Regions from separate parts of the Homo sapiens genome. Here region 2 is linked to region 1. The links are contacts of gene promoters, found by promoter capture Hi-C in human tissues and cell types (Jung and others, 2019). All regions are on one chromosome and are shown on one strand. The core of a region is centred on a gene start or on the middle of the fragment in contact, and the rest is flanking DNA. Distances in the headings are between cores, read along the strand shown. Region 1 holds the start of ZNF441 (zinc finger protein 441). Region 2 overlaps ZNF69 (zinc finger protein 69).

Evidence for each region. Contacts are between HindIII fragments. The study calls those that stand out against the background at their distance.
Region 2: a fragment that was not itself captured here is called in contact with the fragment with the promoter of ZNF441 in region 1 in 1 of the 25 tissues and cell types used here (aorta).

Annotation. Positions count from the first base shown.
Region 1 is chr19:11,763,466-11,769,384 of GRCh38, reverse strand. ZNF441 (zinc finger protein 441) reads right to left here and starts at 2,385. Exons shown (of 4, transcript NM_152355.3): 1 at 2,189-2,385. The coding sequence starts at 2,191. RefSeq lists silencers at 1,355-1,464, 1,915-2,054 and an enhancer at 2,125-2,224. The HindIII fragment of the contact is 15,674 bases long and covers 1-5,919 here.
Region 2 is chr19:11,904,909-11,910,827 of GRCh38, reverse strand. It overlaps ZNF69 (zinc finger protein 69), which reads right to left. Exons shown (of 4, transcript NM_001364730.1): 4 at 4,132-5,919. The coding sequence ends at 4,730. Among named protein-coding and RNA genes, the nearest start is that of ZNF700, 17 kb to the left of the region's middle. The HindIII fragment of the contact is 5,350 bases long and covers 1-5,214 here.

The DNA.
Region 1 (5,919 bases), core at 1,136-3,635:
CAGCAGGTATTGCCAGGCAGTGATACAAATGAGGGACACTTCAACAGAAATGATGGAGACAAATGGTTACCTACAGGAGAATAATCCATCTTCTGCCCAGCATCTCCATATACAATGATCAACTAACTATAGACTTTCCAGTTTTCATTAATTTTTACTCAGTTTGTTACCTCAGCTTCCATTTTGAGTGTGGTTTCGTTTTTCCATACCAAAAAAGGGGTTTTATGACCCTTGACACAGTTTCTAGTTCTCTATCTTCTCCCAGTTCTTCAATTTGGTTGATCCATATGCATCCCTTATACCATCATCTCCTTTCACCACCTCCCTATGGGTGCAGAGTGTGTCAAGTCAGGTCCTCCTATCACCTGGAACATCCCCCATCACCATGCTGCTCACCGAAGTGCTCAATAACCATGATCCCAGGAGACACTACATTGTTAGCTTTTCAGGTTCTTGCACCACCTCAGTGGAGTTGGTTTTCCTGTCCTTAGGGATAGTTTTCTCCCTTCATTAGTCTGAGAACATCAGAAGGGAAGAATCATTTCAGTCCTGTCCCCTTAATACCACCATCCAATTGGCTGACCAGCCATATATCCCCAAGGAAGGGATGGGGGAAGAAAAGCTGAGTGTTCTAAGGAAGTAGCTTATTGAGGAAGGGTATACCAGGAGACTCCTCCCACTACAGGGCATCATGCTGCTTCCCTACAAGGTCCCACCATCTCCACCTCAGGGTGTCCTCTGGGAGGAGTGACAAAGGGACTGATATTCACTTGACACTACAAGAGACTTGGCAGCTGTGGGCATCTTGGGGTGGCCCCAGGCAGCTCTGAAACCCAGGACCAGGAAACCATAGAGGATGGGCTGGGGACTCATCACTCTGTAACGTTTCCAAAGAGGAAACTTAATCCAAAGACATTCTCAAAAGGTGTCTCTGTCTAGGGATGATGAAGGGAGGACAGTAACAAAGATTTTATTTATTAATATTCATTTTTTTTACAGCGAAATGTCTGGTGGTTTTTCTCTGCTTCCTCTCATGTGAAATGTTCACAAACACAAAACCTTTTACAAAGAGCCATATATTGCTATGTATAAACAAAATGACAATTAAAATACTAGCCTCTGTTTGAAAAATAAACTGGGGGACAAGGAGTTCATAAAGTTGCTGTGAATTGAGGAGAGAAAGCCTGAGGAAGGCTCTGGAAGCCAAGGGATTTTCTGTCGGCCCTAGGAGGAGTTAGGATGAGAGAACACAGTGGTGGACTTGAGACCCTGCTGCCCACATCTTTGGAAGACTCGAAGGCGAACGGGTCACCCTTGGGAAGAAAGAAGGGACAGGGGACCACACAGACCACAACTCCTCCCACACACAAACCCCACACACGAGTCTGCCTGGTGACCTGTCATCACCGTGCAGCCTCCTCACCGGGTTCACAGAACTGCGAGCCAGGCTGGAGGCGAGATTGCAGTTAGATATTAACCAGGTGCCCTCAGCCCCGCTGCCTCGCGGGGCCGCCTCCCCAAGAGTCAGGCCACAGCAGATGCTGACCGCCGGCTTCGCCATTGTGCTTGGGGATGAGATCTCTGAGAGTTGCTCAAGAGTCGCCTGAGTTCTTTCTCAGATCCTGAATTCCAGCGGAAAGGCTGGCGCCAACCAGGCTGAAGACCCCACAAGGGAACCCACTCAGCAGAAGAATGCGGTTTCTTCACCTCCAGTCCCAAGAGTCACCCCTCACTTCCCCACCATCCAGCGACCCCACGCCCCAGCCGCCCCTGTCCACACCCCTAAACACCCCATCCCCAAACCTCTCAGGAAGGCGGATCTGGGGTGTCCTCCCCTCTCCCCCTATTAAACTGTTTCTGCTGCAGCCCTCGGCGTCTCGGTGCAGTGACTCGGGCCGCGAACCTGTGCCGGTTACAGCCGCACAATCTGGGGAGACGCAGGACTGCGGGCGCGGAGCTGCCCAGACAGGCCTCCAGGGCCAGGGCCGCAGTGGCCGCGCAGGGACGGGACAGGACGCCCGGGGTCCCGGCTGCCGCCCCAGCCCCATCGTGCGGCCGAGGGAACCGAGGGCCGAGCTGCGCCAGGGTGTCGCCGGCGGGGAAGACCTGGTGCCACCACAGCCGGTTCCGGCCGGTTCCAACCAGTCTCTCCTCTCACGCGTCGGGACACCAGACCTCACACACTCACCATTTCCCGGCTTCCGGCGTCCAGGTTCCTCCCTCTGCCTCCCGCTGTCAGTGCGGGTCCCAGCGAGACAGAAGCTGCCACAGACGTTCCAGGGCGTCTCTCAGTGACAGAACCCGGAGCCCAGTGCAGGGGCGTGGAGAAGACTCGGCGGGCTCTTTGAACCTTGCACCCTCCTCCGGTCAGTGCGCCTGATTGACAGTTCTCACGACCCCGCCCCGCGGCCCTGATTGGATAGTGCGCCAGGTCCCTCCCCCGGGCACTGAGTAACGGAAGAAGCGATCTCGGGCAGCGGAGTGGAACCTGATAAACAGATTCCAGACAGGCCTTGAGAGGACTAGCTTCCTCCCTGCGCTGTGACCTGACCCCCTCCCAGGGGACATTTGCATTTAGGCAGTATGTCCTGACCTTCCTCCTTTTTCCTCTTGGACAGGGACCCACAAGTCTGTGCAGGAAATTCCAGACTCACTGTCCAGTGGAGCTATCCCCTGATTTGAGAGCAGGAAGGGAGCCCAGGCCACACTGCAGCAGAAGGGAGGGGCTGATGTCCTCCAGGAATCAGGAGTTTTGGATGAGGCTGTTGGCTGCACAGGCCAAGCCTTTCTCCCACCTTATGTCTCAATCTACTAATTTTCAGTGCAGAATATAAAAACACCCCAACAAAGCCGGGCGTGGTGGCTCACACCTGTAATCCCAGCACTTTGGGAGGCTGAGGCAGGTGGATCACCTGAGGTCAGAAATTCGAGACCAGTCTGGCCAACATGGTGAAATCCCGTCTCTAAAATACAAAGATTAGCCGGATGTGGTGGCGCACGCCTGTAGTCCCAGCTACTCAGGAGGCTGAGACAGAGGAATCACTTGAACCTGGAAGGCAGAGGCTGCAGTGAGAGAGTGGGCGAGACAGAGGGAGACTCCGTCTCAAAAAAAAAAAAAAAGAAAAAAGAAAAAAGAAATAAATAAAATTGTTAAATGTGTGGAAAAACTGGAATTATATGGCGGCAATATTTTATAAAGCAAAAACTTGAACTAGCTCAGATAAGCAGCCTGCTGCATCCACACACAGTTCACAAGTCAACCACTTTCAGGAGGCCAAACATATTCCAAAGCTTGGAGGCCAGACGATAATTCCTGAAATGGAGCCCTAGGGTGGATCAGAACCTGGGGATGAGTCAGGGGCACTAATGGATTTAACTCTGGGAGTTCAATTTGCCCTCCTGTCTCCTAAACACAGCGTGGAAATGCTCCTTCCATCAAGCCTATAAATGTTATTGAATTAAATGCTTCAATCAAAGGCTGAGACATTAGACTTTGAATTTGAAAACATTCATCTTCATATTTTTATGAAGAATACCAGATATAAAAGCATTATGAGGCCAGGCACCGTGGCTCATGCCTGCAATCCCACCACTTTGGGAGGCTGAGGTGGGTGGATTGCTTGAGCTCAGGAGCTCAAGACCGGCCTGGGCAATGTGGTGAAACCCCCATCTCTATTTAAAAACAAACAAAAAAAAAGCGTTATTAACTGGGAGCTGGCACCCATGGTGATACGAAGAAAAAGAGGTTTAATTGACTCACAGTTCAGCATGGCTGGGGAGGCCTCACAATCATGGTGGAAGGCAAAGGAGGAGCAAAAGCAAATGTTACATGGCGGCAGGCAAGAGAGCGTGTGCAGGGGAACTGCCCTTTATAAAGCCATCGGATCTCATGAGACTTACTCACCCAAATCTCATTTTGAATTGCAGCTCCCATAATCCCCACATGTCATGGGAGTGATCCAGTGGGAGGTAATTGAATCATGGAGGCGGTTTTCCCATGCTGTTCTCGTGATAGTGAATAAGTCTCATGAAATCTGATGGCTTTATAAAGGGCAGTTTCCCTGTACATGCTCTCTTGCCTGCCGCCATGTAACATTTGCCTTTGCTCCTCCTTAGCCTTCCACCAACACCTGACCAAATGGATATGACATCTACAGAACTTTCCACCCAAAACCAACAGATTATACATTCTTCTCCTCACCACATGGCACATACTCTAAAATCAGTAACATAATCAGACATAAAATAACCCTCAGCAAATTAAAAAAACAAGCAAACAAAATCATACCAACTGCACTCTCAGACCACAGTGCAATAAAAATAGAAATCAAGACTAAGAAAATCTCCCCAAACCATACAATTATATCAAAATTAAATGACCTGGTTCAGAATGACTTCTGAGTAAATAATGAAATTAACACCAAAATCAAGAAATTCTTGGAAACTGAGAAGAAAGATACAACATACCAGAATCTCTGGGGCACAGCTAAAGAAGTGTTAAGATGGAAATTTATAGCACTAACTGCCCAAATCAAAAAGAAAGATCTGAAATTAATAACCCAATATCACAACTAGAAGAACTAGAGAAGCAAGAGCAAACCAATCCCAAAGCTAGCAGAAGACAAGAAATGACCAAAATCAGAGCTAAAATGACCAAAATCAGAGCTAAACTGAAGGAAATTGAGATACAAAAAAAAAAAAAAACATACAAAAGATTAGCAAATGCAAGACTTAGTTCTTGGAAAAAAATAACTTAAAAAGTCCCAAATAGTCAAGGCAATCCTAAGCAAAAAGAACAAAGCTGGAGGCATCATGCTACCAGACTTCAAACTATATACTACAGGGCTACAGTAAGGTATTTTTACAAAAACTGACACATTACCAATGGAACAGAATAGAGAGCCTAGAAATAATGCTGCTCACCTTCAACCATCTGATCTTTCACAAAGCTGACAAAAACAAGCAGTGGGGAAGGACTCATCAATGGTGCTGGGATAACTGGCTAGCCATATGCAAAAGATTGAAACTGAACCCCTTTCTTAAACCATATACAAAAATCAACTCAAGATGGATTAAAGACACTTTTCAAAAGAAGACATGCATGTAATCAACAAGCAAATGAAAAAAAAAATGCCCAATATCACTAATCATTAGAGAAATGCACATCAAAACCACAATGAGATACCATTTCACACCAGTTAGAATGGCCATTAATAAAAAGTCAAAAAATAACAGATGCTGGGAAGGTTGTGGAGAAAAGGGAATGCTTATACTCTGCTGGTGGGAGTTTAAGTTAGTTCAACCATTATGGAAAGCAGCGTGGTGATTCCTCAAAGCACTAAAAACTGAATTACCGTTTGACCCAGCAATCCAATACCCATTTACTGGGGTATTGGATCCACATACCCAAAGGAATATGGATCATTCTACCATAAAGACACATGCACACCTATGTTCATTGCAGCACTACTCACAATAGCAAATATATGAAATCAACCTAAATGCCTGTTAACAGTAGACTGAATAAAGCACATTTGGCACATATACACCAAGAAATACTATGCAGCCATAAAAAAGAACAAGATCATGCCTTTGCAGAAACATGGATGGAGATGGAGGCTATTATCCTTAACAAACTAACACAGGAACAGAAAACCAAATATCACATATTCTCACTTAATAAGTGGGAGTTACATAATGGGAACATGTGAACACAAAGAAGGGAACAACAGACGCTGAGGCATACTTAAGGGTGGGAGGAAGAAAAGGATAAGAAAAAATAACTATCAAGTATCATGCTTAGTACCTGGGTGATGAAATAATCTATACACCAAACTCCCATGACACAAGTTTGTCTATATAAAAAAACTGCATATGTACCCTGGAACCTAAAATAAAGGTTAAAACTAGACATTTGAA
Region 2 (5,919 bases), core at 1,290-3,789, 140 kb before region 1:
GATCCCATTTGTCAATTTTGGCATTTGTTGCCATTGCTTTTGGTGTTTTAATCATGAAGTCCTTGCCCATGCCTATGTCCTGAATGTTACTGCCTAGGTTTTCTTCTAGGGTTTTTATGGTTTTAGGTCTAACATTTAAGTCTTTAATCCATCTGGAATTTAATTTTTGTATAAGGTGTAAGGAAGGGATCCAGTTTCAGCTTTCTACATACGGCTAGCCAGTTTTCCCAGCACCATTTATTAAATAGGGAATCCTTTCCCCATTTCTTGTTTTTATCAGGTTTGTCAAAGATCAGATGGTTGTAGATGTGTGGTATTATTTCTGAGGGCTCTATTCTGTTCCATTGGTCTATATCTCTGTTTGGTACCAGTACCATGCTGTTTTGGTTACTGTAGCCTTGTAGTATAGTTTGAAGTCAGGTAGCCTAATGCCTTGAGCTTTGTTCTTTTGGCTTAGGATTGTCTTGGCAATGTGGGCTCTTCTTTGGTTCCATATGAACTTTAAAGTAGTTTTTTCCAATTCTGTGAAGAAAGTCATCGGTAGCTTGATGGGGATGGCATGGAATCTACAAATTACCTTGGGCAGTATGGCCATTTTCATGATATTGATTCTTCCTATCCACGAGCATGGAATGTTCTTCCATTTGTTTGTGTCCTCTTTGATTTCGTTGAGCAGTGGTTTGTAGTTCTCTTTGAAGAGGTCCTTCACATCCCTTGTAAGTTGGATTCCTAGGTATTTTATTCTCTTTGAAGCAATTGTGAATGGGAGTTCACTCATGATTTGGCTCTCTGTTTGTCTGTTGTTGGTGTATAGGAATGCTTGTGATTTTTGCACATTGATTTTGTATCCTGAGACTTTGCTGAAGTTGCTTATCAGCTTAAGGAGATTTTGGGCTGAGATGATAGGGTTTTCTAAATATACAATCATGTCATCTGCAAACAGGGACAATTTGACTTCCTCTTTTCCTACTTGAATACCCTTTAGTTCTTTGTCCTTCCTGATTGCCCTGGCCAGAACTTCCAACACTATGTTGAATAGGAGTGGTGAGAGAGGGCATCCCTGTCTTGTGCCAGTTTTCAAAGGGAATGCTTCCAGTTTTTGCCCATTCAGTATATGATATTGACTGTAGGTTTGTCATAAATAGCTCTTATTATTTTGAGATACATCCCATCAATACCCAGTTTATTGAGAGTTTTTAGCATAAAGGGCTGTGGAATTTTGTCGAAGGCCTTTTCTGCATCTATTCAGATAATCTTGTGGTTTTTGTCTTTGGTTCTGTTTATATGATGGATTACGTTTATTGCTTTGCATATGTTGAATCAGCCTTGCATCCCAGGGATGAAGCCAACTTGATCGTGGTGGATAAGCTTTTTGATGTGCTGCTGGATTTGGTTTGCCAGTATTTTATTGAGGATTTTTGCATCGATGTTCATCAGGTATATTGGTCTAAAATTCTTTTTGTTGTGTCTCTGCCAGGCTTTGGTATCAGGATGTTGCTGGCCTCATAAAATGAGTTAGGGAGGATTCCCTCTTTTTCTATTGATTGGAATAGTTTAAGAAGGAATGGTACTAGCTCCTCTTTGTACCTCTGGTAGAATTCAGCTGTGAATCCATCTGGTCCTTGACTTTTTTTGGTTGGTAGTCTATTAATTATTGCCTCAATTTCAGAGCCTGTTATTGGTCTATTCAGGGATTCGACTTCTTCCTGGTTTAGTCTTGGGAGGGTGTATGTGTCCAGGAATTTATCCATTTCTTCTAGATTTTCTAGTTTATTTCCATAGAGGTATTTATAGTACTCTCTGATGGTAGTTTGTATTTCTGTGGGATCGGTGGTGATATCCCCTTTATCATTTTTTATTGCATCTATTTGATTCTTCTCTCTTTTCTTCTTTATTAGTCTTGCTGGCGGTCTATCAATTTTGTTGATCTTTTCAAAAAAACAGCTCCTGGATTCACTGATTTTTTGAAGGGTTTTTTCTGTCTCTGTCTCCTTCAGTTCTGCTCTGATCTTAGTTATTTCTTGCCTTCTGCTAGCTTTTGAATGTGTTTGCTCTTGCCTCTCTAGTTCTTTTAATTGTGATGTTAGGGTGTCAATTTTACATCTTTCCTGCTTTCTCCTGTGGGCATTTAGTGCTATAAATTTCCCTCTACAAACTGCTTTAAATGTGTCCCAGAGATTCTGGTATGTTGTGTCTTTGTTCTCATTGGTTTCAAAGAACATCTTTATTTCTGCCTTCATTTGTTATGTACCCAGTAGTCATTCAGGAGCAGGTTGTTCAGTTTCCATGTATTTGAGTGGTTTAGAGTGAGTTTCTTAATCCTGAGTTCTAGTTTGATTGCTCTGTGGTCCGAGAGACAGTTTGTTATAATTTCTATTCTTCTACATTTGCTGAGGAGTGCTTTACTTCCAACTATGTGGTCAATTTTGGAATAAGTGTGATGTGGTGCTGAGAAGAATGTATATTCTGTTGATTTGGGGTGGAGAGTTCTGTAGATGTCTATTAGGTCCTCTTGGTGCAGAGCTGAGTTCAATTCCTGTATATCCTTGTTAACTTTCTGTCTCATTGATCTGTCTAATGTTGACAGTGGGATGTTAAAGTCTCCCATTATTATTGTGTGGGAGTCTAAGTCTCTTTGTAGGTCTCTAAGGACTTGCTTTATGCATCTCAGTGCTCCTGTATTGGGTGCATAAATATTTAGGATAGTTAGCTCTTCTTGTTGAATTGATCCCTTTACCTTTATGTAATGGCCTTGTCTCTTTTGATCTTTGTTGGTTTAAAGTCTGTTTTATCAGAGACTAGGATTGCAACCCCTGCTTTTTTTGTTTGTTTTCCATTTGCTTGGTAGATCTTCCTCCATCCCTTTATTTTGAGCCTATGTATGTCTCTGCACGTGAGATGGGTCTCCTGAATACAGCACACTGATGGGTCTTGATTCTTTATCCAATTTGCCAGTCTGTGTCTTTTAATTGGAGCATTTAGCCCATTTACATTGAAGGTTAATATTGTTATGTGTGAATTTGATCCAGTCATTATGATGTTAACTGGTTATTTTGCTCGTTAGTTGATACAGTTTCTTCCTAGCCTCAATGGTCTTTACAATTTGGCATGTTTTTGCAGTGGCTGGTACCGGTTGTTCCTTTCCATGTTTAGTGCTTCCTTCAGGAGATCTTTTACAGCAGGCCTGGTGGTGACAAAATCTCTCAGCATTTGAATCTGTAAAGGATTTTATTTCTCCTTCACTTATGAAGCTTAGTATGGCTGGATATGAAATTCTGGGTTGAAAATTCTTTCCTTTAAGAATGTTGAATATTGGCCCCCACTCTTTTCTGGCTTGTAGAGTTTCTGCCAAGAGATCCGCTGTTAGTCTGACGGGCTTCCCTTTGTGGGTAACCCGACCTTTCTCTCTGGCTGCCCTTAACATTTTTTCCTTCATTTCAACTTTGGTGAATCTGACAATTATGTGTCTTGGAGTTGCTCCTCTCGAGGAGTATCTTTGTGGCGTTCTCTGTATTTCCTGAATTTGAATGTTGGTCTGCCTTGCTAGGTTGGGGAAGTTCTCCTGAATAATATCCTGAAGAGTGTTTCCCAACTTGGTTCCATCCCTGTCACTTTCAGGTACACCAATCAGACATAGATTTGGTCTTTTCACATAGTCCCATATTTCTTGGAGGCTTTTTCATTTCTTTTTACTCTTTTTTCTCTAAACTTCTCTTCTCACTTCATTTCATCCATTTGATCTTCAATTACTGATACCTTTTCTTCCACTTGATTGAATCAGCTACTGAAGCTTGTGCATGCATCACATAGTTCTCGTGCCATGGTTTTCAGCTCCATCGGGTCATTTAAGGTCTTCTCTACACTGTTTATTCTAGTTAGCCATTTTGTCTAATCTTTTTTCAAGGTTTTTAGCTTCTTTGTGATGGGTTCGAACATCCTCCTTTAGCTTGGAGAAGTTTGTTATTACCGATCATCTGAAGCCTTCTTCTCTCAGCTCGTCAAAGTCAAAGTCCAGCTTTGTTCCATTGCTGGCGAGGAGCTGCGTTCCTTTGGAGGAGAAGAGGCGCTCTGATGTTTAGAATTTTCAGCTTTTCTGCTCTGGTTTCTCCCCATCTTTGTGGTTTTATCTACTTTTGGTCTTTGATGATGGTGATGTACAGATGGGTTTTGGTGTGGTTGTCCTTTCTGTTTGTTAGTTTTCCTTCTAACAGTCAGGACCCTCAGCTGAGGTCTGTTGGATTTTGCTTGAGGTCCACTCCAGACCCTGTTTGCCTGGGTATCACCAGCAGGGGCTGCAGAACAGCAAATATTGCAGAACGGCAAATGTTGTTGCCTGATCCTTCCTCTGGAAGCTTCGTCACAGAGGGGCACACGGCCGTATGAGGTGTCAGTTGGCCCCTACTGGGAAGTGCCTCCCAGTTAGGCTACTTGGAGATCAGGGACCCACTTGAGGAGGCAGACTGTCCATTCTTAGATCTCAAACTCCATGCTGGGAGGACTGCTACTCTCTTCAAAGCTGTCAGACAGGGACATTTAAGTCTGCAGAAGTTTCTGCTGCCTTTTGTTCAGCTATCCAGAATGCATTCTTATGTGTGCTTGTGTCCTTTACTGAATTCGAAGGTTCTGGGCAGACCTGAAGGGTTTCCCACATTCTTTACATTCATGGTTTCTCTTGATTGTGTGTCCTACCATGCATTCAAAGGTGTGAGGCAGATCTGAAGGCTTTCCCTCATTGCTTACACTCATAGGGTTTATCTTCAGGGTGAGTCCTACCATGCATTCGAAGGACTGAGGCAGCTCTGAAGGCTTTCCCACATTGCTTGCATTTATAGGGTTTCTCTCCAGTGTGAGTCCTTTCATGGTATCGAAAGGAACTGGAACTACTGAAGGCTTCACCACATTGCTTGCATTCATAGAGTTTCTCTCCAGTGTGAGTTTTTTCATGTCTTTGCAATGATTTGGGACAATAAAAGCCTTTCCCACATAGCTTACATTTATAAGGTCTTTCTCCAGAGTGTATTCTTACGTGTGTTTGTGTCCTTTCATGACTTTGAAGGTTCTTCATAGATCTGAAGGCTTTCCCACATTCCTGACATTCATAGGGCTTCTCTCCAGTGTGAGTCCTACCATGCAATTGAAGGTGTGAGGAAGATCTGAAGGCCTTCCCACATTGCTTACACTCATAGGGTTTCTCTCCAGTGTGAATCCTTTCATGATAACGAAGGGAACTGGAATGAATGAAGGCTTTACCACATTGCTTGCATTTATAGGGTTTCTCTCCACTGTGAGTTTTTTCATGTCTTTGAAATGAATTGGCAGAACAAAAGCCTTTCCCACATATCTTACATTCATAAGGTCTTTCTCCAGAGTGCATTCTTATGTGTGTTTGAAAACTTGTAAGAGAGGATAATGCTTTCCCACACTGCGTACATTCATAGGGTTTTTTCCTAGAGTGGGTCCTTTCATGTATACGAACATACTGGGGACACGTGAATGCTTTTCCACATTCCTTACATTGATAAGCCTTCTCTCCCGTGTGAATCCTTTCATGTCTACGATAGCATCTGGGACTATGAAATGCTTTCCCACATTGCTGACATTCATAAGGCTTTTCTCCAGTGTGAGTTCTTTCGTGTATTCGAAGGGTAGCAGAATAACTAAAGGATTTACCACATTGTTTACATTCATATGGTTTCTCTCCAGTGTGAATTCTTTCATGGATAAGATATAAACTGAGACAATGGAAGGCTTTCCCACAAAATTTACATTTATAAGGTCCATCCCCACTGTGCATTACCACGTGTCTTTGAATGCTTGAATGGGAAATAAAAGTTTTTCCACATTCTTTACAAGCATAGGGTTTCTCTCCAGTGTGATCCCTTTGTGGTGTTCTAAAGGAGGGGTGATATCTGAAGGCTT